Regions from separate parts of the Homo sapiens genome. Here region 2 is linked to region 1. The links are contacts of gene promoters, found by promoter capture Hi-C in human tissues and cell types (Jung and others, 2019). All regions are on one chromosome and are shown on one strand. The core of a region is centred on a gene start or on the middle of the fragment in contact, and the rest is flanking DNA. Distances in the headings are between cores, read along the strand shown. Region 1 holds the start of EXPH5 (exophilin 5). Region 2 has its middle 26 kb from the start of CUL5.

Region 1 (2,653 bases), core at 43-2,542:
TCAATGGCACACAGTGTGGTCTGAGAGTGATGTCCTGAATTCCCTTCCACAGTTATCTAGAGAAGGACTTAGATGGATATATTCCAATATTGGCGAGAGAGTCCCTTTAATTCATTCCAGCACTTATCCCACACTTCCCCAGCAGAAAAACTGGTTAATGTACATCCTGGGTAATTATCTGTGTCTCTGGATTTCATTCTTTAGTAACTAATCCCTCACCTACAACAGTGTATAGTAAGGTCAAGGATGAAATTTCTCAGAAACTCGCTCCCCACAGCACCACGCACAAGAAGACCCACCCATTCCAGCCAACCCCGTGTGTCCAAGTCCCATTCGCCCACATAAGCCTCTATTTGACAAATTCCTCGAGCTCCTACCCTTGGGGTGGGGACCTTTCGCCTCCCGTGAGGTGCCGGCTCTCCCGTGCTTCGCTGACTGCCCGCATTGGGTGGGGAGATTCGCCTCTGGTGCCGAGGGAAAACTGCGTTAGGCGAGGGTGGAAGCTCTGTCGGACCCGTGCGAGCACGTGGGTGCGCGCGGGCCGCGGAGTGAGCAGCAGCCAGGATTCCTCTCCAGATCGCGCCCCCGCCGCATTTCATTGCCTGAAACGGCCCACGCCCCGCGATGGCCCAGCAGACACCCGGCACAGCACAGCGTCACTGCGCGGCCCCCGCAGCGCACGGACCCCCCCACCCTGCCCGACCCCAGACCCGCAGCCGAGCCCGTCTGGTATGTGGTGGGTGGAGAGGGTACCAACTAAGCATCCCAAAGTCCTTCAGGGAGCAACTCCGCGCAGTTTTCTCTTCCCGACCCGCAGCCTCCGCAGCAGCCGCTCGGAGCACCCCCGGGCAGGTGCCCCGCGCGAGCTCAGCGCCTTCCCCGCGGATCCCCGGCCCCTGCGGGACCCAGGCCCAGGACAAAAGAAATGAATTTGCTCTGTACCTGATCCTGTCCTTCTCGGCCCTCTGTAACTCCTCATTCCTTTCCAGCACCTGAAGGATCTTCCTGGCCTCTTCGTCATTTAAGAAACTGAAATCAAACGCCGGAGGAACTTTCGTCATTTTCTTTACTGTGTGTGAGTTACACTTAAGCTCCTTGGCGCCTCCTGTTAGGAAGGCATTTTTCAACCTGTACAAGACCAGTTTCACGAACTTGATCCCACAGCCAATAATAAGTCCGCCCCTTTGAAAGTCTAAAACCACAAACCTAGGGAACGCCCACACCTGAAGGGCTCATATTGACAATACCTTAATGACATGTTTCTCTCAACCTGTCCAACCGAGATGCAAAGTGAACGGCTAAAGGGAGAGAGGGAACCAATCCCGTTCCAAGGGGGCGGGCCCTCCCTTGTCCCCTCCCTCGTCCCCTCCCTCGTCTCGTCCCGTCCCTCGTCCCCTCCCTCGTCCCCTCCGGTCACCCTCCCCGCCCCCTATCTGAGTTGTTAAGCAAACAAGCCTACATAATTCTGCCTCTTAAGTGAGGCAAGGCTAAGTGTTGGCGCCAAAGTATTTGCTTTTGCTGTTGCTGTTTGCTCGCAGAACTTGAGCTTGATTAGTAAAGGAGTGAAAAAGGAGATTCATGACTAATCCTCCCTTTCAATAATTAAGAGCCCATAGAAAATAGAATTGCAAGTAGGGTTTGTAACTGGCAAAAGGGTTACTTATCTGAAAGACCAGGAAGAACTAAACTCAATTACACTACTGACTGTGGATGAACCTGGCTGAAGGGCGGAAATTAGTGTATCCTTGGAAACGAATTATTTGCCAAGCCTCTCATCCCACAGACACCCCCACCTCCACTGTCCCACAAAAGTCATTCTTAGACTTTAGAAACAAACAAACAAACAAACAAAACCGTTTATGGTATTTTAGGAGAAGACAGCCCAGAAGCAAAGGACTGTAGAAAACACCTGTTAGAAGTTTTCTGTAAGATTTTATTATCATCTTAATAAACTCAGAGAAGTAATACACATGCCATTTAAAAATACCTAATCCTCTGGTGAAAGCAAATGGTAATCCTATGAAGCCACAGAAATAGCTTTCCTAGAAAGTCAATTGTTCCACAATGCAATGAAGAATAATAGAAACTTATAAAGATATTCACATATATACTTTTTTTTTAATTATCAAGGCTTTTACAGAAAACATGTTTTTATCTTGGCTTCACTTCCTACCCAAAAATAACTCTGTCAGATTGACTTTCCTGCCCCATAGCCTTAATTTGGTCATTTTGAAGATGGTGGTGATGATTACTAACATATAAAATGTACTTCTACATATATCATTTCTTTTCATGGCACATAAACCCAATTAAAATTTTGTATCTGTACAAGAACATGATATCAAAAATTGCCACTTGTGTTTTGTTCTCTGGGCTACCCCATTTGATCATCATTATTTAAAACATGCCTAGGCAGCTAGCCATTCAGATAACTTTCTGTGGGTGTCTGTTATTTGTGTGAACCAGGAACCAATTTTGTTCACCCATGGTGTACACAATACAGAACTCCTTTATAAATAGTGTCTGTATTAATGATCCTGTTTTGGGAGTATGTCTTGTATATGGTGTCCAGTTTTTCTAGTGTGTTCATTTATTCAGCATACACATGGGACTTTTCAATATGGTCACTGGTGGGATTTTACACTGTTTCCAG
Region 2 (2,653 bases), core at 89-2,588, 610 kb before region 1:
CTTCAATATTCTCTTGGCTATTCCCTTTTATTTTCTTTTCCTTTCCTTTCTGATGACCCCGGCAGTGTAAGACTGCCACCTCTTTAGATTTCTGCACAGCCAATAATAATCTCCTGACGGCTTCCTGATGTTTGATTGGTGTTCTCTCGGAAGTTAGGAATTCCCTTTCTCTCCATATTGCTGCATGGGCATGGAGGACTAGGTAAGCATACTTACAGTCTGTATCTCTATTTACCCTTTTTTCTTTTTCTAATTTTAGTGCCCAAGTGAGGGCTATTTTAGTTTTGCCAGCTGAGTGATAGTTTATATTAGTTTTGCCAGCTGAGTGATAGTTTATATTAGTTTTGCCAGCTGAGCGATAGTTCCTGGAGTGAGGGGATTACTTTCAAGTATTTTATTATTACTGACCAGTGCATACCCCGCCTTTCAAATTCCTTTTTCAACAAAGGAACTTTCATCAGTATACAAGTTGAGGTCAGGATCAGTCAAGGGAACCTCTAGAAGGTCCCCTCGAGTGGCATAGGTTTGAGCAATCACCTGTTGACAGTTATGTTCTATCTTTTTTTCATTGTCTGGAAGAAATGTGGCTGGGTTAAGAGTTGCACAAGTGTGCAGCCACATCACTGGCCCTTCAAGTAATAGAGCCTGATATTTAAGTAAACAGTTGTCTGACAGCCACAAGTCTCCTTTAGCAGTGAGTATGCCGTTGACATCATGAGATGTCCACACAGTAAGATCTCTTCCCTGTATCATTTTAACTGCTTCAGATACTAAGACTGCTACTGCCGCCACTACCTGTAAACAGTGAGGCAAACCCTTTGCCACTACATCAATTTCCTTAATCAGGTATGCCATGGGTTGCAAGCTTGTCCCTTGGACCTGTGTAAGGACTCCTAGAGTTATTCCTATTTTTTTCTGTGACATATAAAGAAAAGTCTTGCCCCGTTGGCAAGCTTAACACTGGGGCTTGGGTTAGTGCCTTCTTTAGGGCCTGGAAAGCCGCTTCTGCTTCAGGTGTCCATCTTACTAAATGGGTATTGGCTTTCTGAGTTTCCTTAATTTCACTGGACTTATTGGTGAGACATTTGCATGCCAGAGGATGGGAAATAAATCTGACTAAAATTCAGGAAACTTCTACCTCATTAAAATTTCTAGGGGTCCAGTGGTGTGGGGCCTGTTGAAATATTCCTTCTAAGGTGAAGGATAAGTTGCTGCATTTGGCCCCTCCTACAACCAAGAAAGAGGCACAATGTCTAGTGAGCCTATTTGGATTTTGGAGGCAACACATTCCTCGTTTGGGTGTGTTGCTCTGGCCCATTTATCGGGTGACCCAAAAGGCTGCCGGTTTTGAGTGGGGTCAGGAGAATGGTTTGCAACAGGTCCAGGATGCTGTGCAAGCTGCTCTGCCACTTGGGCCATATGACCCAGTAGATCCGATGGTGCTTGAGATGTCAGTGGCAGAGAGGAATGCTGTTTGGAGCCTTTGGCAGGCCACCATAGGTGAATCACAGTGGAGGCCTCTAGGATTTTAGAGCAAGGCTCTGCTATCTTCTGCAGATAACTACTCTCCTTTTGGCCTGCTGCTGAGCTTTGGTGGAAACTGAACATTTGACTATGGGTCATCAAGTCACCATGCGACCTGAACTGCCTATCATAAACTGGGTGCTTTCTGGCCCATCTAGCCATAAAGTGGGTTATGCACAGCAGCATTCCATCATCAAATGGAAGTGGTACATACATGATCAGTTTCGAGCAGGTCCTGAAGGCACAAGTAAGTTACATGTGGAAGTGGCTCAAATGCTCCTGCCACCCTGCCTTCTCTTCTCCAGCCTGCACCAATGGCCTTATGGGGAGTTCCCTATGATCAGTTGACAGAGGAAGAGAAGACTAGGGCCTGGTTTACAGATGGTTTTTCATGATATGCAGGCACTACCCGAAAGTGGACAGCTGCAGCACTACAGGCCCTTTTTAGGACATCCCTGAAGGAGAACAGTGAAGGGAAATCTTCCCAGTGGGCAGAACTTTGAGCAGTGCACCTGGTTGTGCACTTTGCATGGAAGGAGAAATGGCCAGATGTGTGATTACATACTAATTCATGGGCTGTGGCCAATGGTTTGGCTGGATGGTCAGGGACTTGGAAGAAGCATGATTGGAAAATTGGTGACAAAGAAACTTGGGGAAGTGGGTATGTGAATGGACCTCTCTGAGTGGTCAAAAACCATGAAGATATTTGTATCCCATGTGAGTGCTCACCAACAGGTGACCTCAGCAGAGGAGGTATTTTAATAATCAAGTGGATAGGATGACCCATTCTATGGACACCACTCAGTCTCTTTCCCCAGCCACCCCTGTCATTGCCCAATGGGCCCATGAACAAAGTGGCCATGGTGGCAGGCATGGAGGTTATGCATGGACTCAGCAACATGGACTTCCACTCACCAAGGCTGACCTGGCTATGGCCACTGCTGAGTGCCCAATTTGCCAGCAGCAGAAACCAACACTGAGCCCTCGATATGGCACCATTCCTCAGGGTGATCAGCCAGCTACCTGGTGGCAGGTTGATTATATTGGACCTCTTGCATCACGGAAAGGGCAGAGGTTTGTCCTCACTGGAATAGACACTTAGCCCAGATATGGGTTTGCCTATCTTGCA

Evidence for each region. The method cuts DNA at HindIII sites, captures the fragments that hold promoters and counts their contacts. A contact is called where the count stands out against the background at its distance.
Region 2: a contact is called between a fragment that was not itself captured here and the fragment with the promoter of EXPH5 in region 1, in 1 of the 25 tissues and cell types used here (spleen).

The regions. Positions count from the first base shown.
Region 1 is chr11:108,592,476-108,595,128 of GRCh38, forward strand. EXPH5 (exophilin 5) reads right to left here and starts at 1,293. Exons shown (of 6, transcript NM_015065.3): 1 at 943-1,293. The coding sequence starts at 1,061. RefSeq lists silencers at 770-829, 1,110-1,159, 1,180-1,479. The HindIII fragment of the contact is 7,491 bases long and covers 1-2,653 here.
Region 2 is chr11:107,982,057-107,984,709 of GRCh38, forward strand. No RefSeq gene overlaps it. Among named protein-coding and RNA genes, the nearest start is that of CUL5, 26 kb to the right of the region's middle. The HindIII fragment of the contact is 3,165 bases long and covers 1-2,653 here.